7 separate regions of the Homo sapiens genome follow, and regions 1, 2, 4, 5, 6 and 7 are each linked to region 3. The links are contacts of gene promoters, found by promoter capture Hi-C in blood cells and fetal thymus (Javierre and others, 2016). All regions are on one chromosome and are shown on one strand. Each heading gives the region's core, a stretch centred on a gene start or on the middle of the fragment in contact. The rest is flanking DNA. Distances are from core to core; before and after follow the strand shown. Region 1 overlaps ZMIZ1 (zinc finger MIZ-type containing 1). Region 2 overlaps ZMIZ1 (zinc finger MIZ-type containing 1). Region 3 holds the start of POLR3A (RNA polymerase III subunit A). Region 4 overlaps ZMIZ1 (zinc finger MIZ-type containing 1). Region 5 overlaps ZMIZ1 (zinc finger MIZ-type containing 1). Region 6 overlaps ZMIZ1 (zinc finger MIZ-type containing 1). Region 7 overlaps ZMIZ1 (zinc finger MIZ-type containing 1).

Region 1 (3,435 bases), core at 118-2,617, 1.2 Mb after region 3:
TGTGTGCATTTCCCTGGGGCTGGGACTGGAGTGGATGGGTGCCAGCGGGTAGTCTCTGGGCTTGCAGAGTTGGTCTCCCACCCTCCCAGGGCTCCAGTGTTGAATCCCTGCTCCCTGGGTCAGAGCCTGAGGCACTAGTGATTTACCAGCTCCCTGTCTGCCTCCCAAGAGCTTATGATCTGATGGGCAGCTTCACTGTGCGCAGAAGATTTAGCAAGGTCTGGTTCAACCCCTGTGTGTGGGAGGCCAGGACTGTGAAAAAATGGGGGGCATGTTTCAGAGAGGAAGGAAAAAGGAAGCCCAAGGAGCCCTTTTTCCTGCCTCTCACTTCTGCTGCTTCCAGGCCCAGCTCTAATGCCATGGCATGGCCCAGGAAGCTTTCCCTGGATCCCCACACCCAGCGTCCGGGGCCACTGTCTCCTTGCGGTCCTTAGCTCCTGTGCACATCCAGGATCCAGCGCTGTACATCAGTAGCTTCCTGTCATCCCTTGCCCACCTGGGTGTCAGCCCACTACACTGACTTGAAGGACAGGCGGTTCGTGACTTGCATCCACGCTGGGTGCTGCGTAAATGTCTGTCAGATGGCCAGCCCGGAGCATGAGGACATGGCGGCCCTGGTCACCCAGGCAGGAATTGAAAGGCTCGAGGTCTTGGCCCAGCTCTGGCTCCCCAGCTTGTCTGTGTGATGTGAGGGGTGCCTGCCTTTCTTGAGGTCCCTGCTTGTAAGGAGCAGCGTGGGATTTACTGTGCTGTCCAGTATAGCAGCCACACATGTATTTAAATGTACATTAGTAAAATTAAATGAAGTTTTCAGTTCCTCAGTCACAGTAGTCACATTTCACGGGCTAGTGGCTACCAGATTGGACAGTGCAGTGGTGGAATGTTCCCATCATGGTAGAAAGATCTGTTGGCAGTGCTGTGCCTGAAGTGGTCACTCTGTGGCCCGCGGGCCTACCCTGTTGGCAGCTCTGGTGACTGCTCCTCTCCCTTTCCCCCCAATGCACGAGGGACCTCCCTGCCCAACTACCCGGGGCTCTTAAAATGGGGCCACCCGGTGTCCTTCCCAAGCCAGTGTCAGACAGTAATTATGAAACCCACATCTGTCATTTACCAGGTGACTTTGAGTAAGTCACCAAGGTTCTCTGAGCCTCTGTTTCCTGATCAGTGCAGTAGAGCTACTTGTCCCTGCCTGGCAGGGTTGCAGTGGGGAGTAAATGAGATGGGGCTAAAAGGCGCTTAGGTTGGTATCTGGCCCATAGTAACGTCTCAGTAGCTGGCAGCTTTCATCACTGTCAGGTGGATTCATCCCCTCGCAGCATGGGCTTAGTTCCAAAACTGGCTGGGCATTAGGTTCCCCTCAAGTTCCTGAGCCCGAGACTGGGTTCTCTCCACCCAGCTCCACCACCAGCCCCCTTCTGTCTGAGCCTCAGTTTTCTCATCTGTACAGTACTCCTGCCTGTCCTTGCCCTGTGTTGCAGCTGGAGACCTTGCTGTGCCCTGTGGAGGGTGGTGCCATCTGGGGGCTTATCCCTCCTTCCAGCATGGCCACTGTAACAGGAGAGCCTGAGAAGGTCAGGGGACAGAGGGGCACAAGTGTGCTTGCCACTTGTCTGTCCCAGAGAGAAGCTGCCTGGCTGTCCCTCCGGCAGCCATCAGGGAGGTCCTAGCATGTGTCAGCTCTGGAGGAAGTAAGCGTGGCCGGCACCCACGTGCCCACTTTCATTTCCCTCTTGGGGAATGAGAGGTGAGAGTCTGCACCCTGGACTTCTGAAGCCCGCCAGTGATTTGCACAAGGACTTCTTCCTTGAGGTCTACCCATAGTTTGTCAGGGTCTGTGAGCCCCTGCATTTCTGGGCAGAGGGTCTGTGAGTCGAGCCATGTTGAGGTGGCCCTTGGGGTCCAGCCATCCTAGTGAGAGTGGGCTTGCAGAATAAGGACTGTGAGTCCAGCCTTGGCTTTCAGGTGCCCAAAGGGTGCCTGGAGAACCCCTCGCTGAGAGGAAATTCTGGGAGCTGGGGAAGGGTCCCAGGAGCCAACACACGGCTTCTTGTCAAACCCTAGGTCCTGGCACCCACGGTGTCCTTGGTGTCGGGATGGGTACTGGGAGACAGAACAGCCTTCAGGCGCAAGGCCGGAAGACCATCCTGGGGAACAGACCACGCGCAGGGAGAAGGCACAGGAAGCTGGGGGGCCAAAAGGGGAGGGGCTTGCTGGGGACTTGTGGCCATTGTAGAGATCGAGGAGGTGAAGACTGGGCACTGCACTGAATTGGGGGTTTCCAGGTGGGGATGGGATGGCCCTCCTGTGGCTCCCCACTGTTAGGAGCGAGAGGCCCTCACCCCACAAAGGTGCCCTCCCAAGCTTGCTCCCTACGTCTGTCCCCCTCCTCTCCTGTCTTCTCCACACACCGGGACCTCTCACCCTGTCTAAGCCTCAGTTTCCTCATCTGTAGAACCGGAGACTAGTACTCATCCCCTAGGGCTGTGGGAGGATTAAAGAGCTCATTCCAGCCAGCACCTTGAGCACAGTGCTGGGATCTCATCGCCCCTGAGCAAACATGAGCTACCCTTCCTGCTCTACGTGGTTCTCCTCATGTTTGTGGGAGGCGTGTTCCTCTGGGTCACTTGTCCTCCTGCTCCCCAGCTTTGGGGCCTCTTTATTGTCCATTGCAGCCCAGCCTATCCAGACACTCCCCCAACCCCTCACCCCATACATCTGTTGGGGGTACCTTTTCTCCAGCATGAGCCCCGAACTGGTAGAACATGCAGAATGCCCATCTTCTCCAAGAGCCTGAGACATCTTGGAGCAAATAGTCCCCCTGCCTCCAGCCAGGGCCCCAGGGCTCTTGGCCAGAAGCTCAGGGCTCACTCAGTGTTTGCTGAGCAAAGGCTTGTGTCTTCCCTGCAGGGAGTGGGGACAGCTTGTGTAACTCTCAGGTATGTCTTCATTTGATTTGCCAGCAACAGGCTCAGAAAGTTACTGGGCAGTCCCGGGATGCCCTGGAAAACGGACAGAAGCCATTGTCCCAGGGGGTCAGGGCAGCAGCACCCAAAACAGAGAAACGCCCTATCCCCACCTTACTAGAACCATGGCAGCCTTGACCGTTGGGTCCTTAGTGGCTTCTAGGAGGCCACTCGGGCAATGGGTCTCCCAGGAGCAGCATCAGGACAGGGGAGGGAGTAAGGGCCGAGCACTTGGCTTCCACTGTAAGCTCAGGCTCTGGCTTCTTCTGTCCAGGCCAACTTTGGCCCTTGAAATGGAGGAAGGTCTTCCACCCTCCCTGAACCCTGCTTTTCCTTCGACTGCTGCTGCCCAAGGGCACCCGTAGACAGCAGGTGGGCCTCAGGAGGCAGGCTCCTGCAGGCTCCTGTACCCACCCAGCCTATGTACCCACCCTGCCTAGAATTAAGCCTTCCCAGCATCAGGCCTACCAGG
Region 2 (3,426 bases), core at 462-2,961, 1.2 Mb after region 3:
ACAAAGTGTAGGGGTGTGGCCTCCTTGGGAATGAGAGAAAGCCCAAGGGGCCTTCTCCAGAGCTGAATCCAACCCTCCTTTGCCTCTGGGGAAGAGAAGCTGTCAGAGAAAGTTCACTGTGAGGTCAGGGATTTGGAGTATGGCCAGAGGATGGCAGGGGGGTTTGGCCTCAAGGGCATGGCCTCCTCTAAAGTGCCATGTGCCCAGAAAGACAAGGCACACCAAATGCAGCTAGGATCCCAGCCCTGTGTGGGTTGGGTCAGTGGGCTGGCCCCTTTGTCAGGGCCACATCACTGAGTGTTTCCCCAGGAAACTGTCACTTCTGAATTAACTTCTGTGTCCCAGGGCAGGTTGCTAGGCATAGCTGTGTGGGGCTGACTGTCATGAAGCCCCCACTCTGAAATGCCAAGGTTACATTATGTTATCCCACTAGCCAGCATTGACAATGGGTGTTCCCGTGAACAAGGATGGGTGTTGGGAGATTGGATCATGAAGAGAAGTGGGTCCACCCTTCCGGAAGCTTTGAGTGCCAAGCCAAAGCATCTGAACTCTGGTGGGGCAGTGTGGAGCCGTGTCAAGTCTTGGCACAGGAGCACTGCCCTGGTTGAGGAAGGAGGGACTGAATTCTGAAGAGTTGTGGTCCGAATGCAGAATTTCACTTTTTAAAACACTGTCCCCTAAGTATTCATTTGCTCAGCTCCTCAACACAGTGGGGCAGGGAGGAGATGGACTTTCCTGCTTGACAGATGAGGATGCAGGCTCAGGAAGGTGAAATACCCTCCCACAACCTCATAGCCAGGAGGTCTGGCTCTCAGGACCACTGCCTACCCAGGGGCCCCACCCTGTGCAATGACTCACGCTGGCCCGAGGGCCTGCTCCAGTTGTCCTGCTAAGAGCTGGAAGCAGCTGGCCCTGTGCAGCTGCCCGGAGCTGCCTCTTCCATCCCTCTCCCCATCTCGTCTCCTGTCTCTCTGCCCTTCTTTCTGACTTCCCTGAGGTAGGGCACAAAGTCACTCTCCTACTGTCCTTGCTTCACCACCACCCTCTTCCTCTGCATCCAGCCCGTGTGCCTGGTGCAGGCTACCGAGGTTTGGGAATGCGCGAGCCACCTGCGACGTGACCACAGGCAGCTTCCACACCTCTCTGAGCTTCTACTCATTACCTTTAAGGTGAGGAAGTCATCAGTCTACATCAGTGCTTGCCTAACCTTGGTCACTTTCATTCCGTTCATACTATGTTTAAAACAATTCTTTAATTCACTTAGGTCTGCTATTGCTACCTAATTTAACTGCATGCTAAATAATAACATTCATGAACTCATCAGTCCAAAAACTTCACTATGAGAATGTAAAAGGTTTGTCCATGGACCTTCTAAAGTCATCGTTATCCCACCAGAAGTACATGTATCTCTCTTTGGGAACCCTCAACGGGGTAACCAGTGTCTCTCTGAGTCCTAGGATCTTCTGATTATGGCTGGGTGATGGGTTTTTCAGCTCTCACCACCCTGGTTCTCATGTACACCCAGCAATGGGCGTGCGTCCACCTGCCTGTTCACCCATCTAATGAGTACCTGCTGAGTACGGAGCCCTGGGCTAGACTAAGGGATCTGTAACTGGAAGACATTCCAGCTGATGGAGAGACAGTTGCAAGGAGTCAGCCCTCATCTAGTGCTGCTACGATGGGGGTGTGTGACAGCGACATGGAGGGGATAGGGATGGAAACCAAGAAAGAGCACGAAAGAGTGACAGTTGAGCCATACCCTGATGGATGGGAGGTGTCCAGGCATTGCGGGCAGAGGGACAGTCAGAGGCAAAGACATGGAGGTGCGATCTTCAGAGCACAGTCCGGGAGGCAGGGAGCAGCCCCACGTTGGGGACAAGGGATGTGACTGAGAGTAGTGAGGGCTAGGGGCCAGGCCGAAAAGGATCCCAACTGATGCTGACATGTGCAGGTTGGCAGGTCATTGCTGAGCCCAGGGCTCATGAAGTTTGTCCCTTTGGGAGTCTAAGGCTGATGAAGGGGCTGTCTGGGATGTCCTCTGGACCCCTAGGCTTTCCCTTCTGGCTGTGTCTTGGAACGCAGCCTCTGCTCGCGGGCTGTAGGCAGAGCTGCCCACTCCTGCCACTGGCACCGCTTGCCCCAGGGGACCTAAGCTGCAGATGTGCATGGTGATTGAATCATTTCTGCACACCACTGCTCACACAGCTCCCCGGGGACCCCCACTTGCCTGTGCAAGCTGTCATGAGATGTGTGTGCTCAAGTGCATCTGTGTTGGCATCCAGCATGTGCACATACCTGCTGTGAAGTATGCAAGGGGTCACATGTGTATGTGCCTATGCACACGTGTGCTGTGCAGACGCCTCTCTCTGGGTGCGTGTGCATTATGTGGACTGATGAACTAGTGAGGCCTCAAAGGTGGGAAATAAAACACTTGTGTTGGGACAGCTGACTGTTCGGTTGGCTGCCACCCTTGGGAGCTAGCTGCCTGTGGAGCTCCACATTTCTGTGGGGCAGCTAGAAGCACCTCATCCCTGTGTCCAGTGAGGAGCCCCCTGAGGGCTGTTTGCCTCCCCCAGCCGTTGAGACCGTTGAGATGCTTCTCTCCTTGCTGACTTGGCAGCCCAGAGATATCCAGGGCTCTATTTGGACCTGTCAGAGGGGCTCCAGCCCAGCTCTGCTCACGATGCCCTCCGTGTCCTCTTCCTCTCCCCACCTCCGCTTCCCACCCTGCTGCATGAGGGCATGAGGCAGGTGTTCCCAGGCCTTTTCAGCTCTCAACGTTCTATCCTCCAAGCAGCCCTCTATACATAATAGCCGCTAACTTTTCTTGAACTAGTCTTCTGCACCAGGCGCCGCTAAGCATAGACACCCTCGCTCTGCTGGGTGGTGAGAAGTGTAAATGGAAGCTTGGTCCCGAAAGACGTCCCACGGGAGTTGGGAAGACCGAGCTGACCCCATGTTACCATCCAAAAACTTCCATTTGCCCAACTAAGCCCAGCCAAGCGTAAGGTGCAAGAAGAAGCACAGAGCTGTGAAAGGGGCAGCGTCTTGGCCTTGGGCTGCCCTGGAAGAACAGCTCCCGGGGCTGCCGGGCCTTCAGCCTCCCCATGGACCTGCCTTGGGACAGGCTTTGCAGCTTCAAAAGCAGGCATTCTCCTCTTGTGGGGATGGTGTTTTCTGAACAGCCGGAGCTCCTCACAGGGAATCCTAAGAGGCTGGTATTTGACAGGCTGCCAAAGGCTGGCCAGCCCGATCCTGTGCTTTGCAGACAGCGAAATGGAGGTCCAGCTCTCTGCCCTATTCACTCAGCAAAGCAGGGTCCTGATCCCCCATGCTGATTAGCTTTGCATGGCTCCTGGCTGCTCTGACCAGGAGACATGGCGGGGGTCCTGAGCCGGGATGGGGGTAGCCTGCTTGGTCTCACCC
Region 3 (3,067 bases), core at 489-2,988:
TTGAACTTCTGACCTCATGATCTGCCTGCCATGGCCTCCCAAAGTGCTGGGATTACAGACGTGAGCCACCACTCCTGGCCTCTGCTAGAGGATTTTAATTGACAATACCCTTAATTTGCACTTTGACAGAAGCACTTTCTCTGTTTTGTGAGAATGTATTATATCTGACTGGGCGCAGGTGTACAGGTGGGTGTGAAGGGCCAGTGTCGATGTAGAGCTACCACATGGGAGAATGCTGCATTCACCTAGGTAAGACACCTGTTCTAGTGAATGGCAACCATCCACACAGCTGCCCAAGCAAGGCATTCTGTATATCCGTCTCAAGGTCTCTCGACCTCTAATTCTTTCCACCATGAATCAAGAGATTTTCCAGAAGGAGAACTCTTATCAAGATACTCTCCTGTTGAAAATCCTTCAAAGGTTCCTCACTGCCTACAAGATGACTTCTTAACACAGCTTCAAGTCTTCTGCTTCCTTCTGATCACCTGTGTTCTCTCCCTCAGGTCTGCTCCTTGAAAAAAGCAGTTTGGTCTGCTTTCTTTTGCCTGGACCCATTATGTGCTCTCAAAACCCCCTGGACCTACCCTTGTCATTGCACTTGTCGTACCCAGTGTTGACTTGTGTACCTTCTCCAACTAGATTAGGCAGTAAAAGTTTTATTCAGACCGTATCTTTAACGTCCAACACTGGGAATAACGCGCAGTATCCTCCTCAGTGTCTGCTGTAAGAATGATGAATTCACTTTTTTTTTTGAGACACCGTCTCACTCTGTCACTCAGGGTGGAATGCAGGAGGTTGCCCACTGCAACCTCTGCCTCCCAGGCTCAAGTGATTTTTCGGCCTCAGCCTCCCGAGTAGCTGGGACCACAAGGGCGCGCCACCACGCCTGCTAATTTTTGTATTTTTGATAGAGACGGGGTTTCGCCACGTTGCCCAGGCTAGTCTCAAACTCCTGAGCTCAGGAGATTCACCCGCTTCGGCCTCCTAAAGTGCTGGGATTACAGGAGTAAGCCACCGCGCCCGGCTGGATTCACTTTCTTACCGAGAACTCTAAGAAGGAGCCACCGCCTAATAACGTATTTCTGAAGGCAAAAGTCCGGATAGCAGCTTTATTTCTGACACTGCCATCCGTCGGCCTGTGGTACAGCTTTCTAGTGGGCAACCCCATCCTTTTGGTAAGCAACTACTGCCTCCGTGTCAGACGCTCTGCGGCTGACAGAATTAGAGACAGTCCCCGCCCCAGATTGCTCCCCTCGCTGCAGCAGGGGATAGTTCGCTGAAGAACAGGGATCATTGTATGACTTCAGGAGAATGCGAGCTTTGGCCCAGGGTGCACAAATCATTAAGGCTCAGGCCACTCCGACTTCTCCGCCCAAGTCCAGGGACCTCTCGAGGTGCTGAAATCCCCTCAGCCTGACCAATGCTCTTTGACCAACGCTGGTAGTTCTGGGCGCTGGTCACACCTATGGACTACTGGCCCTCCCCTTCCCATTGCACCCCATCTCTGACCCTGCAAGACCCGGGACCGCTGACCTCGGACCCCTTGCCCTATTTCTCAGCCCTTTGGCCACTCTTACTCCGTCTTACATTTTCTTGGCCACATCCGTCTCCCGGAACTGCTCCTTCACCATGATGACCGCTGCCGGGACGCCTCCTTGGCACTCGGGAGGCCAGATTAGAGAAACGATGCCCCCAGCACCTCCTGGGGCTGCTTCTGGACTCGCCGCTAACACATCTGCGGCATCCTCTCGGCCACCGTAGAGTGTCCCACGTGTCCGCTTCCTCTTCCGCTACTCGCCCGCGCGTCTGTCTGTCAAGAGAGACTTCCGGCATGCCTTTTTTTTTTTTTTTTTTCCCTTTCCCCGCACCGTCACCTGGTGGCGCTTACTGGAAGCCGCACCGAGGCGTGTGCTGTATTTTAAAAATCCCATTTCTGGTCAATTTCTCCACGTAATCAGACACCCGCAGAGAAACTGCATATAACTCTTTGCCTCAAGGCTTTTAGACAAGCAGAGGGCCAAAACTTGCATAAAATGGAAAATCATCATCATTAACATCAGTACCATCTAAATTAAGAGCTTCTAATTGTTTTAAGGGAAGGTGGAAGCTAAAATGAACCGGCCCATCCAACAGAGGGCACTATCTGTGGAGGACCAACAAAGGAAAACAGAGCGGAAAATATGGGCGCACATGTGCCTCCAGTTCATGAAGTTATTTGGAGGGAGGGGGGAAGAATTAAACTTACATTATTGATTACAAAAACAGTTGAAAATCTGTTAGAGTGAAAACAGCCATGGTAATCTACAGAAGAAAAGGGAGAATGGAAAGTAAAGATCATTCATGTCTTGAAATAAGTTGTCTACAGTCTGTGAGAACTTGTGGGAGGTGATCCTAGTGTGATATATTAGTGCATGAGCCTAGCAAGGAAATCACATCACCACAGGGCTTAGCGCTTAGAATTAGAACTAAGTCCTCATTATTTGTGAGAAACTCAAAACAGAACTTAACAAAAGTGTTTAACAACTTTCAATTTTTAAGAAGGGACGCTATCTCATTTTCAGACGCCATGGATCCTCACTAGCAAAACACAATGTCACAGACAAACGAGGCATATCAGGTTTTTCTAACTCATTTCGGTACTCCATCACTTAATCATGAAATAATGTTGACTATATATATATATATATATATATATATATAGTCAACATTATGGGTTTTTTTTGTTTTTTTTTTTTTTTTTTTTTTGAGACGGAGTCTCGCTCTGTCGCCTAGACTGGAGTGCAGTGGCGAAATCTCGGCTCACCGCAACCTCCGCCTCCCGGGTTCAAGCGATTCTCCTGGCTCAGCCTCCCGAGTAGCTGGGACTACAAGCGCCCGCCACCACGCCCAGCTAATTTTTGTATTTTTAGTAGAGACGGGGTTTTACTATGTTGGCCAGGCTGGTCTCGAATCCCTGACCTCGTGATCCGCCCGCCTCAGTCTCCCAAAGTGATAGGATTACAGGTGTGAGCCACCACACCCGGCTCTGATGTTTACAATATTATACCAACAAGGGTTGGATCGTGTG
Region 4 (3,115 bases), core at 32-2,531, 1.1 Mb after region 3:
TATCAGGTCTGCTTGACTGATGTCTCAGCTCTGGGCTGTGGCCAGTGCAGGAGGAGAGAAGAGGCAGGGACCTCAGTGTGACCCCCACAGGTGTCCGTCCACCCTGGCTGCTGGGTGAGCTGGGCCCCAGAAAACTTTCTAGAGCCCCCAGGGAGCTGACTGGTTAACGGAGAGCAGGAAATTTATGGTTGCTGAGCCTTTGGAAGCTTTTTGCTCACATCTGCCTCCCCCATTAAGTGCTTCTCACCCTTCTTCAGCTCCAGTTTGGGAAACAGCAAGCACATCTTGCCTCACGGCTGTTCTGGGACCGTCTACCGCTCCCCTGAGGCATCTTTAGGGACCTCTGTTGGAGCCTAGGGGAACATCTCTGCTTCATAACCTCTGTGAATTGCTCCCGTGGTGCCACCTCCATCTGGCCCACCCTCAGGTTGGTGGGACAGGCTGGCATGAGACGGCCCTCGCCCTTGCCAATAGCCCCTGCCAGTTTTCTCTGGTCCCTGGCCTCACCCAGACTTCCCGTCACAACCCCTGACCCCTGCCCTTGTCACCACCTGGGGTGCCAGCCCCCTGTGCTTCGTTGCCTCTGCCCCCAGCAATTCCCTCTCAGGTAGGGGTTCCCAGTTGCCTCCTGCCCGGCAGCTCCAGCGTGGTCAAGGATTGAGCCAGGAGGACTTTGATGCACTAGAACCTATAAATAATCTGGAGCATTTTTATCTGTGTATGGAAGAAATGCAACAGACTTCCTTGCATCCTGTAGCCAGCTTAGCCTGTCCACAGCCACAGCTCCAGAAGGGCTGATAAAGATCGTCTCATCCCTGGTATTGACTCCTCCAGCTGCTGCCCAGACACCTCCATTGCTGGAGAAGTCACTACACAGTTTTGCTCATGTAAATTCAGTGTGATAGAGGATAAAGTGTGGCGTGTGGTCAAAGTGTGTGGGTTTCAGGGACAGACAGTCCTGGGTTCAAATCTCTATTCTTCCACCTATCAGCCAGGTGAGTCTGGACAAGTTTCTTTCATCTTCAACTCACCTGTTTCCTCATCTGTAAAGGGGTGCAGTGCACCCACCTGGCAGGATAAAATGCAGCAATAGCTACACAGCACCAGTCCTCTCTGTTAGCAGCAGACTGATGCCCTTGGGGAGATACCTCCCACCCCTCAAACAGGAGCATCTGCTTGAGGTGGGCATTTGTTAGCTCTGGACCCAGACACTTCCCTCTCCAGAGACAATGGACCCCCAGGTCTTCTCTTGAGCTTTCAAGTGGGAACTTCTAGGAGGATACTTTGAGATGGAGACACAGTGCTTCCCAGGCATGCTAGCACACCCAGGCCACCTGGGACACCTGTTTAAATGCAGATCACCAGGCCCCTCTCCTGGAGTCTGATTCTGTAGATCTGGAGTTGGGCCTAGGCCTCCAATTTTTAAACAGATGCCCCCAGAAAATACCTGTGATCTGGCCAATCTGGGACACACTGGTGCCTGCAAAGGGGAGCTGGCCTAGAGACTTAAGCCAGTTCCTCTCTGTGGCTCAGTTTTCACACTGATAAACCAGGGGTTTAGATGACCTGGCAGGGATCTTTCTGCCCTTAAAACCTCATGACAATCAGACAGACATTCCCTGATGTCCCCTCTACCAGGGGCAGATCTGTGGGTTTCCGCCCCATTCCTTTTAGCCACAGAGCATTTGGCTCAGCAGCCTTCTGCCAGCCTCAGAGCCCTAGGGATAGATAGAGAAGCTGTTCCCTGGGTGTCACATGCCATTTATTGGCCATTCCCTTGCCTTCCAGGAGGCCCTAACTCTGCAGGCATTAGCGGAGTCCACTCAGATCTGAGATCTTTTCTGTAAGCTGAGCTGGATCACTAACTGGTACCTACTGGGAGGTAGGGCGGAGGCCAGAGTGGGTGGGGGCAGTCCTGCAGCTCCTCTGAGGCATCTGGGAGCCTTAATAGTTAATACACATGAAAGCCTGCAGCATTGGAACTGCAGAATGACCCCGCAGAGCCCTCCCTGTCTTGTTACAGATGAGGAGACTGAGGCCCAAAGTGGAACGTGCTGGCTAGGAGGATGTGAGCTCTGGGAGCTCCACGTGGCTCACAATCTGGTCTCTGGGCCAACCCATGCGGCCCACCATGCCTCTCGTTGTGTGGTCCATCTAGGATGGGCAGCCCCGCCAGGCTTAAGCCCTCAACTTAAGCTGCTGAGCCCCTAGGAAAAGAGAGTGCCATCTCAGGACAGGTCCGAGGGGCTGCCTGCTCCTGAACACTGGTCCCTTCTTGGACCCGCACTGTCAGCCTAAATCAAGAACCCCCTCCCAGCCCATGGGTCCTCCCACCCCAGCCAGGGCAGCCCCCATGGAAGCTTTCCAGAAATATCCACGCACAGTGCGGTGAGCTCCAGAAATGAAAAGGCTCTCACACTCCCTGCTCCCTCCCGTTTTCCACTCACTGCTGCTCAGGGGAGTTAATAAGCAGAGGTGAAAAAGCTGGCCCTGTCCTGATGAGATCTCGTTTGAGGCAGCTGGGTCTGGGCTAATGCCAGAGAAGGAATTCTTCACTGCCGGGCCTTCACTCCACCGGGGATGAGGCCAGGGCCTAGAACTTAGGGACTGGCCTGGGCTGTCGCTCAGAGGATGCCGGGGGCCAGAGCTTTGTCTCCTTCCTGGGCTGGGAGTCCCACTGGGTCCTTAGTTCACATGTGGTGCCTGGTACAGCACCCACCTTCAGGCCTCTGCGCAAGTCAGCCCCTCTCCACTGCTCTCTCTATCTGTACTCAGTAAGGCAGCAGTATTTAGTAAGCACCTACTATTTGTGTGGGTCTGTGCTCGGCTCTTCAGGAGACAAAGAAACAGACCTGTGCCAGCCACAGGGGAGCTCACAGTCTAGGCCACTGTAGGTCACATGCAGGAAGAAAATTTGTGATGCACCGTGTCCACGGGGCAAGGGATGTGTTGAGATCAAAAGAGGAGGAGTCCTTGGGGAGTGAGGGCCTATGGAAGGCTTCCTGGAGGAGGATGACTGTAATGGATTGACACTCAGAGCATTTCAAGAATTTCAGGTGGGGCTAGGGCTGGGGCAGGTGATAGTGCTTGTACCAGAGCATCACTGGGCACACAC
Region 5 (3,214 bases), core at 269-2,768, 1.3 Mb after region 3:
CGTGATCTTAGGTCCCCATGAGAGGCCCAGTGAGGTTAGGCCACCTAGCCGAACTCCCACAGTGTGCCAAGGGCCAAGCCTCCCAGTCTGCTGATCCTCTGACCCTTGCCATCGCCACATGGTGGAGGGCACAGTGACCAGGGAGGCGGAACAGCTGGCTTCTGCGGGTGTCATCCTGAGTCTGCTGCAGCTTTCTTTGTGGGCTTGGCAGAACATGCACCCACTCTGGGCCTGGGTCTTGCTGGGTATGAAAAGTGCCCACATTGGGGAGTAGCTCAGCAGGTCTGCTCTAGGCTCAGGCCATGTCCCCCACTCCCCACAGGAGCCTGGCCCGCCCCCTTTGTCCCACTCTGCCCCCTCCTCCATAGCAGTAGGGGCAGCACATCCCCTAGGGTACCACAGACCACGGGACAGGGCTGAGTGGCTGCTCTATCCTACAGCCCGGAAGCCTCGGGCTGCTGTGACCTACTACAGCCTCGCAAGAGGAAAAGGACTTGGCTTGTATTTTTACACACTCTCTGTTCCCTGGGGGTGGCCACTATCCCTCTGGGTGACCCCCTCCCCTCCCCATCTCATCCCTTCCTAGGCAACAACTACCAAGGCCATGGCAACTTTGACTTCCCCCACGGGAACCCTGGAGGGACATCCATGAATGACTTCATGCACGGGCCCCCCCAGCTCTCCCACCCCCCGGACATGCCCAACAACATGGCCGCCCTCGAGAAACCCCTCAGCCACCCCATGCAGGAAACTGTGAGTACCTCCTCCTCACCCCATTCCATTCCCCAGCCTTTGGGGTTGATGCCTTGGGATCTGGATACCCTGTTCCCTCCCAGGCAAGGCAGAGGATGAAGAATTGGGTGTGTGGGCTCAGAATGGAATAGGAGGGGTCTAACTGAGGCTACGTCGTGCCCTGTCAGTGTCCTTAGACTTGGCTGTTTTACCTAGGATTTCGGATTCTCTGGAGATGGGGGAAGCTTCAGGCTCTTCCCCAAACCCTCACCACCCCATGCATACACACACACGTGCATGCACTCGCCACTACCCAGCACACGCCATCAGCCCTCTCCCTCTCCCACTTGCACAATCTTACACTCACCTAACACGGTTCCAGCCACCTCAACTTTTGTCCCAAACCCAGGCACTTATTCTCCAAGGATCTGAATTCAGGGTATTACCACCTCCAACAAAAGAAATGCTAGGAAGTCTGATTATCTGAAGAGCATTCACTTCTCATTCTGTTTCACACTTATCGACATATGCCCTGTGTGGCTGAGGACGTCCCTGGTGGGGTAAGGTGTCCTGTGTTGTCCACAGGCCCTCCCTTCCTGTGGCCCCAGTGGCAGTGGCAGGAGGCCCTCCTGTCCCCTGGAGTCCTCATCCAGTGAGTGCCACGTGGTTCCACTCATTTTAACAAGCGTTTTTTGAGCTGTGCTCTGCGCAGGCCATGTGACAGGTGTAAGCAAGACAGACAGGCCTTGGGCTAATGGAGTAAAACTCCTGGCAGTGCGTGGGTGCAGGAAGAACAGTTGGAGTTTGGAGAAACTGAAGCCTCCGGAGGCTGAAGTGGTGTGTCTGAGGTCTCAGTCATTCTGGGCTCTCATCTTGGGGAGGAGGGGCCATCACTGAGCACGTGGCTGGGGGTCCTGGGCCACACCAGCCAGGGAGAGGGCCCGGGGTCCTGCCAGAGTCTGGCAGTGGGCTTGGGTGGCCTGCACAGGAAGGAGCCTCTGGATTATACTGCCTTCCACACACCTGACATGGAATTGCCTCAGGACTCTAGGTGAGGTAGCAGCAACTTTCCCTCAGGACCCCAGGAGTCCAAGTCGGAAATAGATGCTTTGTGGAGCTTTGGCCAAGTTTTTCAAAGTTACTCTCTGCCCCATGGGGCTTGTGATTTCTGGGGGCTTCTTTCCTGATGCCCCTTCCTGGGCCCTGAGGGCATCCCACACCCAGAAGACACCAAAATCACACCCCCCGACACACACACATCCTGCGCCCTCACAGTTCCTAACACTGGAATATGGAGTGCTGATGCCGTCTATTTCCCCTTGACAATCAAGCTTTCTCCTGCCTTCTGTGAGCCCCGCTGCCTGCATTCTGTGTGGCTTGATCTGAGCCTGTGAGTTGACCTCAGAGCCCCTTAAGATGCTCTCTAGATGGTCCTGTCCTCCATTTCTGAGCTCTCACTAGAGGGCAAGCAGACCTGGAAGTGCGGATGTGCCAGGCCGGTGGGGCAGGGCAGTCACAGGTAAACTTCTACCACACCTGCCCAGGTGGAGGCAGCCACACCCCCAGCTGAGCCCAAGGCTGGGAGGCACTGCCATGCCCGCAGAGACTGGCCAGAGCGCTCTATCCAGATGCTGCTGCCCCCACAGACTGCCCATACTTGGTGGCGGGTTGACAGGTGTGTCAGCAGTGCTCCAACAGCACCTGCCCCTCCATGCCGGAGACATTCCAGCCAGATACGAAGCTGAGGGGCACAGCTGCCTCTGAAGATCCAGGGACTGTCTGTCTTGAGCTGGGCTGCACAGCTGGAGTGTGGAGCCCCTCCCTGCTCTCCCAGGGTGGGCACTGAGGGCATCTACAGGAGTGGGAGCCCTAAGCTGGCCTCTCACTGACCATGGGTGGTGGCCCATTCCTCCAGCCTCTTGTATGTGTCTCATAAACGGGTCTCCCAAGGTCTCCAGCAGCACCGTTGCGAGGTCGTCTCATTCTTGGGGCTTGGACTGGAAGGGCACTGTGCTCCCTAAGGCCGCATGGGGTTGGGGCCCTACACCCTGAGAAGGGGACACCTGGACCGTGGGCAGAGCCCGACCCATAGCAAGGCCTGGGAAACAGTTTTAGGAGAAACAGGAAGAGGAAGGAAGTTGGGGATGGGCAAAGACCGAGGATGGTGTGGCTGCAAATTCTAAATGCACACAGGAAGAACATGTCAGTGTGTTCTGTGTGGCTGCCCCAGGATGGGGCAGGGTGAGGGGATGAAAAGACCAAGGAAGCATGTGCCAGGCTGCTGTTCCAGTGGAGCACCTGGAGCATCCGTGAGCCCCTCTCACTGGCAGAGCGAAAGTGGGGCTGGGGGCTGTCAGGGATGCTTGCAGTGGGATCAGGGCTTGGTCTGCGAGGATTCCCCGGCCTTTCACTTTGAAGGAGGATCTGCTTGGGACAGCAAACAGGCTAGCAGGGGAATGTTCACATCTCACCCACCCACCCA
Region 6 (3,065 bases), core at 265-2,764, 1.2 Mb after region 3:
ATCATTGCTCACTGCAGCCTTGACCTCCTGGGCTTAAGCGATCCTCCTGCCTCAGCCTCCTGGGTAACTGGGACTACAGGCACCTGCCACCATGCCAGGCCAATTTTTAAATTTTTTTTTAATTTTTTTCTTAAAGGTGGGGCCTTGCTATGTTGCCCAGGATGGTCTCAAACTCCTGGGTTCAAATGATCCTCCCACCTCAGCCTCCTAAGTACCTAGGTACCACTGGCCTACACCATCACACCAGATTAAAAAATTTTTTGCACAGATGGGGCTGGGCATGGTGGCTCATGCCTATAATCCCAAGCACACCTGAGGTCAGGAGTTAAAGACCAGCCTAGCCAACATGGTGAAACCCTGTCTCTACTAAAAGTACAAAAGAAAATTAGCTGGACGTGGTGGCACACGCCTGTAATCCCAGCTACTCGGGTAGCTGAGGTAGGAGAATTCCTTGAACTCAGGAGGCGGAGGTTGCACTGAGCTGAAATCGTGCCATTGCACTGCAGCCTGGGCAACAGAGCGGGACTCTGTCTCAAAAAAAAAAAAAAGAAAAAAAAAATTTGTGTACAGATGAGATCTTGCTATGTTTGCCAGGCTGGTCTTGAACTCTTGGGTGTAAGCTATCCTGCCTCAGCCTCCCAAAGTGCTGGGATTACAGGTGTGAGCCACCATACCCAGTCAAGTTCTCCGTCTTGTGTCTGGACTTTAGTTTCCCTGTCTGTGGCGTGAGGCTGGGTTCCCTGACCTGTGAGGTCCCCTGGCTCTAGGGGTCTAGGTGTCTGGCAGCCAGGATGACAGGGCAGCCTCAGGAGTGCTTCCCCCTGCCACCCCCACCCCGCCACCGTGGGTCAAGCAGCAGTACCTGGACAGCCAACAGAGGGTCACAGCGCCCCAGCCACTCACACTGGCCTTTATGGGGAGGGGGCCTTGCACCCTATAGGACCTTCACAGAGAGCATCATGACCACTGGGGTGAGAATGGGCCTCTCTGAAAAACAAGCTGCACAGCTGAGCCCACGCTCCCACCACTGTCAGTCAGACCTTGCCTCACAGAACTTTCTGGGGGTCCTCAGGCTGGGCCAGAGGAACCCAGGGGATAGGAATGCATGAGGCACTCTAGGGTTACAGGATTTGATTCAGCTCACTCTGCCATACCTGTGCTCTGTGGCCTTGAGCACGGTCCTGCCCTCTCTGGGCCTTGACTTCCTCATCAGTGAAAGGAGGCTATTGGAGCCAGTGACCCTTCTGAATGCTGGGGCACAGGGGACTTGGTGACAAGCAGAGACTCCCTGCTCCAGCACCCACCCGGCTGGCCCTTAGAGCCGCCATACAGCACCAAGCCCCTCTAGCTCAAGTTAGCTAGTATTTTTTCCTTTTTAACTAGAGCAACAGGATTAGCCAGTATTGGCCAAACATGGGGACTTTTGCCTTCCTGCCCTGAACCCAGGGCCTGAGGGTCCTCAGTGCAGGTTGGAAGTTATGGCGTTAACCCTTTGTGGACTGAGAAAGAAGTCTTAGCACAGAAAGAGCCCAGAGTTTTCAGCTAGACTGCCTGGATCACATCCTGTCTCTGTCACTGACCAGCTTTGAGGTGTTGTTCAACCTCTTTCCTCATCTGTAAATCAGAGATAATAATAATAATACCTATCTCGTGGAGCTGCTGAAAGAATTTGCACTTTGTTGCATACAAAGCACCTATGTACGTGGGAGCCAGCATTTTCACTGCAGCACTTGTAAGCATCAGTGTTTCCCATTGACAGCAGCCTCACTACTGCACCAGTCGAAACAGGCCGCTCTGTGCTCACAGGCATCCACCTGAAGTTCTACAAAGAGGGAGGGCACCAGAGTCCACGTATGAGCTGCAGTGGTCCCTCCAGCCCAGAATCTTCCTCCTCACTCTCTGGAGGAGAGTCTGCCTGCAGACTTGAAATATTCAACAGGCCATAAAGAGTTAGGGACCTTGGTTTTTCTATGTGGACAGTGAGACTTATGGTGAGGATGTCCCAGAGACTGGGACATGTAGAGGGGCAAACAGAGCCCGTGGGAAAGAGGCCTAAGGAGTGTGGAAGACTTCTGTGCCAGGGGCTTCTGTTTGCAGCAGAGACGTTGAGCAAGCATCCTAACCTAACAACATCCTTTTTCCTCCCAACCTGGCTCAAACATTAGCCCTACACAGAGGGGCGCAGGGAGGGCCACAGTCCCATTCCAAGAGTCACTGGTGATCCTGGGAAGGGGAACCCATTGGCTCCTCCCTGATTTAGCACGGGACATTTCTCTGAGTCTCCAGTGTTGTTTTAAATTGGCCTAGGTAAGTGGTGTTCCCAGCCCTTTTAGCCCCAGAGCCCCTTTCACAAATTCCTGAGATTTAAGGCAGGCGTGGGGAACGATTCTGTTGGATCTAGGGGCCAGGCCAAACCCCATGGCAGTCTGAGGCCCCTCCAGGCGCCTCTGGAGCAGGTGGTTCCTGGGGGCTTGGCAGCAGAGTCCCCCCTTTTTCAGAAGTACCAGCCTACCACATCTGGGTGCTCTCCCTACTCAGCCATAGCCACTCCAGCTGCTTTCTAAATGACTCCATTTTCCAAGGTCCTTCTTAATAAAGAAAGCTAATTTTGCTGCTGTTCATGAGGAAGGCGGGTGTGAGGGAGCAGATCTGGGAGTCATGGGACACCTGGGAATGGGTGGGGACAGAGTGAAGCCAGAGCGGCAACAGCTTGCAAAGCCACCCAAGGGTCCCCTGGAGCGCCCCGTCCCACACTGCCCCCCAGGGGACCGATGGCCCTCCCAGTCTGCCGCCTCTCACCCTGCCAGTCCCTACTTCTGAGATTTTAAGGAGATGGGTGGGACCTTCAGGCTCCAAACACACCATTGCTGTTATGGAAGCCCCCCATTTGCTGGGGCTTAAGGCTAGAGACAGACCCCAGGCTGAGCGTGGGAGTCCTGCGGTTTCTAGCTGAGGTTGAGGGGGCTGCAGGGTGCTTGGCACGGAGCAGCATTACAATGCCTGCCCCATCCCGGAAGCCTTAGTCGATTAAGCAGCTCTGACCTGAAGCCCTGTGGGAAGCAGCT
Region 7 (3,093 bases), core at 206-2,705, 1.2 Mb after region 3:
GGTGGTACCCCTGCACCCCTCAAAAAATCACTTATGGGAGGAAGATGGCTGGTATGGGAAGGAGGATACTGTGTGTTGGACAGCAAAGGGGAAGCAGGAGGACGGTGTATTTTTGGAGGTCACAAGATACATAATAATTCATAGGTATACATAATAAGTATTGGTGGTAGGGTTACATTATCGTTACTGTTCCTCTCTGACATGAATGTCAGAGTGTAGAGGGCTTTGAGGATCACCTAGCCCAAGCCCCAGTTTAATCTGAGAAGAGACTGACACAGGGTGGGGGATGCAATCTTCCCAGCATCCCTCATCGTACCAGGGGCGAGGCTGGCATTACTCCTGCTATTATTGCCACCATACCTTTATGTGAAACCCTAACATCATCCTACTACTACTGCCAATCAGTTAAGGAGTTACCATGTTTTAGATGCTAGGCAAAATACTGCATGCACATCCTCTCCTTTCAGCTTTACGAAAATATTAAGGTGCAGGTGCGGAAGGAATGTGAGCTAAACCCCCTCCTGCTTCTTCTGACTTGGTGTCCCTGTGCAAGATGTGCCACTTTGAGCCTCCATTTCCTCATCTGTGGAATGGGAACAGCACCACCTGCCCCCTGGGGTTCCAAGCATCCAAGGGGCTAAGTGATAGGAAGTACTGATGCCCAGTACTGGTTCCATGAATGCCTGGGGAATCTGGAGGCTCCCTCTTGGCTCCTGGCTTCCAGCCACGCCCCCGACACCAAGGCCTCTGTCAGTACTGGTTGTTCCTCAGTGCAATTAGGTAATTAGGCCAAATTCAATTACACACCACACTCCCAGGTTTGTCTGGGGCCCAAGGGGGGTGTGGGCTCCCCTTGTTGAGGGGGAGCAGCAGAAGCACTGGCTTGGTTCCCAGGGCTGGGCCTTCCCACTGTGCCTCTCAGAATACTGCCTGCATCCTGCATCGCAGCTGGGGAGACTGAGGCAGGGAACAGGCAGCATTGCTTGGCCCCTGCCTTAGTCTGTTCAGGCTGTTATAGCAAAATACCTTTGACTAGGTAACTTACAAACAATAGCAATTGATCACTCCCTGTTGCAGAGGCAAGATCAGGCTCTGGCAGATTTGATGTCCAGTGAGGGCACGCTCCCCGTAGATGGCACCTTCTGGCTGTGTCCTCACATGGGTGCAAAGAGCGCCCTCAAGCCTCTTTCATAAGGCACTGGTCCCATTCATGAAGGTGTATTCCTGATGACCTAATCCTCTCCCAAAGGCCCCAGCTCTTCGTACCATCTCAATGGATTAGATTTCAACACGTTAACTTAGAGAGGCACAAACACTCAGACCACAGCAACCCCAAACCGTAGCATCCACAGGGCTGAGATCACCATGCCTGATTTTTTTCCCCTCCTGGAGAGCGTCACCCCAGACTGCTGGCCCACAGCTCACCTTCCCTTTCAAATTCATCAGCAGGGGCCTGGCTCCTCATCCTCTGGAAAAGCCCAAAGATTGGTAGGGAGGGTGGGGGGGCCTCAGCTTCCCTCTGCCACCCCTGGATTTGCAGCAGTTTCCCCTCCTAGCTGCAGGCTGGCACCCAGCTGCTGCCCAACACTTTGATCGGCATATGGATCTTTTGGGAGAGCAGGGGCTCTAGTGAAGTTGGGCAAACCAGAGTGTATATATGTCTTTAAGGGTCTTGCCGGGGGAGTCAGGCGAGAGCAACCCAGGCTGAGGGCAGCAAGATGGCCCTCCTGGAGACCAGGCATGACACTTCTAGGGACCACATCATCTGAGTCCTTGAATGCCAATCTAAGGAGCTTGAACTTGATCTTGACACCCCTGGGGAGCGAAAGAACGTTTTAGACAAGGGATGACATGGTCAGATTTGCCTCAGCAGGTAGAGGAGGGACTTGGGTGCTAGAGGCAGAGAACATAGTTTGGAGGCTGGTGCAGTTGCCAGGATGCCAGGACACCAGTCTGCTGGGGTGGAAGTGTGCCGTGTGTGGAGGGAGAGAAGCAGAGGTGACTCCCCAGCAATGCCTCGTGCCCACGCCCTTCCCTGGGCCTCGGAAGCTCAGGTGGTGACATGGCTGTTTTATGCTTGACTCTTGACTTACCAGTTCTGAGGATGGATGGTACACAGCACCTTTCCCAGGGAAAAGGTCTTAACTTTGGATTTCATTCTGAAATGAAAGTGGTTTTATGGAATTTTTCTTGTAAGTCCAAAGATAATACATACTATGTGTAGGACAATCAAGGAATACAGAAAATTATAAGAAAGTAAAGCTGACATCCCACCACTGTGGAATAACTTGGTGAATATCCATTAGTCATGCAGGAAACATTTAACATACTTAATAGATAAACATACTTAACAGATAAACCACAAATAAATATAGGAGAATGGAACCATAGAGGGCCTGCCACCTTGGAACCAGCGTCTTTGCCTTGACAAAATGATGTGTGTTGTAGACCTCTTGCCTGGCCCACCTGTCAGCCTACTCCGGCCTTTACAGGGAATTAGCAGGAGTCAGTTCAATAATGACATTTCTTCTTGGAGCCTACCCAGCCAGACTTGGGGAGGCCAGTGCCCCCGGCAGCAAAGAGAGGTATGGCATCTACACTAGATGTCTTCACTGGGGGAGAGGGGATTAGGGTCCAGAGAGGGACAGTGACCTGCACCTGGTCACACAGCAAGCTCCCAAGCCCCTTTCCAGGTAGCATCTGTCTCAGTTGGGGACTTGGCCTCCTGGGCCAAAGAGCACGCAGTTCTGTGAGCTCAGCTCTGCAGGCCCTGATTTCAACATCAGGCCTCCCACTCCTTGCCCTGCCCTGGCGGCCACCTTTGGATTTCTCCCAGACATTCCTGTGCAGCCTGTCAGCTCATGTCCAGAGCCCCTGGAGGTGGGGGACACCTGGGACCACACTGGGGAATGAAGGAAGCCGCTGGCTCCCCTCATCTGCCATGGACCAGGAACAAGGGGCTGGAAGGGAGCAGGCACCCGGAGAACCTCCTCTCACACGGGGTGGTGAAAGGAAGGCAGGAAGGCTGCACCGGGTGATGAAGGACTCCTGGCAAACTTTTCATGGGCTTGGGAGGTTCCTAAAACCGCGCAA

The links. The method cuts DNA at HindIII sites, captures the fragments that hold promoters and counts their contacts. A CHiCAGO score of 5 or more calls a contact.
Region 1: a contact is called between a fragment that was not itself captured here and the fragment with the promoter of POLR3A in region 3, in 1 of 17 cell types (total B cells). The highest score is 7.9, in total B cells.
Region 2: a fragment that was not itself captured here is called in contact with the fragment with the promoter of POLR3A in region 3 in 13 of 17 cell types (total CD4 T cells, naive CD8 T cells, naive CD4 T cells and 10 more); the score reaches 46.6 in total CD4 T cells.
Region 4: a contact is called between a fragment that was not itself captured here and the fragment with the promoter of POLR3A in region 3, in 4 of 17 cell types (total CD8 T cells, naive CD4 T cells, naive CD8 T cells and 1 more). The highest score is 6.9, in total CD8 T cells.
Region 5: a contact is called between a fragment that was not itself captured here and the fragment with the promoter of POLR3A in region 3, in 4 of 17 cell types (naive CD8 T cells, activated CD4 T cells, total CD4 T cells and 1 more). The highest score is 6.7, in naive CD8 T cells.
Region 6: a fragment that was not itself captured here is called in contact with the fragment with the promoter of POLR3A in region 3 in 12 of 17 cell types (naive CD8 T cells, activated CD4 T cells, total B cells and 9 more); the score reaches 13.9 in naive CD8 T cells.
Region 7: a contact is called between a fragment that was not itself captured here and the fragment with the promoter of POLR3A in region 3, in 6 of 17 cell types (total B cells, activated CD4 T cells, total CD4 T cells and 3 more). The highest score is 11.6, in total B cells.

The regions. Positions count from the first base shown.
Region 1 is chr10:79,248,825-79,252,259 of GRCh38, forward strand. All of the region lies in intron 7 of ZMIZ1 (zinc finger MIZ-type containing 1), which reads left to right. Among named protein-coding and RNA genes, the nearest start is that of PPIF, 97 kb to the right of the region's middle. RefSeq lists enhancers at 1-144, 145-1,058, 308-357, 1,768-1,847 and a cis regulatory region at 1-23. The HindIII fragment of the contact is 1,984 bases long and covers 376-2,359 here.
Region 2 is chr10:79,191,984-79,195,409 of GRCh38, forward strand. The region is part of intron 4 of ZMIZ1 (zinc finger MIZ-type containing 1); the gene reads left to right. Among named protein-coding and RNA genes, the nearest start is that of ZMIZ1, 120 kb to the left of the region's middle. The HindIII fragment of the contact is 2,386 bases long and covers 519-2,904 here.
Region 3 is chr10:78,027,777-78,030,843 of GRCh38, forward strand. POLR3A (RNA polymerase III subunit A) reads right to left here and starts at 1,739. Exons shown (of 31, transcript NM_007055.4): 1 at 1,588-1,739. The coding sequence starts at 1,631. RefSeq lists an enhancer at 1,659-1,908. The HindIII fragment of the contact is 13,008 bases long and covers 1-3,067 here.
Region 4 is chr10:79,168,727-79,171,841 of GRCh38, forward strand. All of the region lies in intron 4 of ZMIZ1 (zinc finger MIZ-type containing 1), which reads left to right. Among named protein-coding and RNA genes, the nearest start is that of ZMIZ1, 100 kb to the left of the region's middle. RefSeq lists an enhancer at 2,302-3,091. The HindIII fragment of the contact is 2,154 bases long and covers 205-2,358 here.
Region 5 is chr10:79,306,819-79,310,032 of GRCh38, forward strand. ZMIZ1 (zinc finger MIZ-type containing 1) reads left to right here. Exons shown (of 25, transcript NM_020338.4): 23 at 587-753. Among named protein-coding and RNA genes, the nearest start is that of PPIF, 39 kb to the right of the region's middle. The HindIII fragment of the contact is 1,086 bases long and covers 976-2,061 here.
Region 6 is chr10:79,212,222-79,215,286 of GRCh38, forward strand. All of the region lies in intron 6 of ZMIZ1 (zinc finger MIZ-type containing 1), which reads left to right. Among named protein-coding and RNA genes, the nearest start is that of PPIF, 130 kb to the right of the region's middle. The HindIII fragment of the contact is 8,674 bases long and covers 1-3,065 here.
Region 7 is chr10:79,232,286-79,235,378 of GRCh38, forward strand. All of the region lies in intron 7 of ZMIZ1 (zinc finger MIZ-type containing 1), which reads left to right. Among named protein-coding and RNA genes, the nearest start is that of PPIF, 110 kb to the right of the region's middle. The HindIII fragment of the contact is 5,014 bases long and covers 1-3,093 here.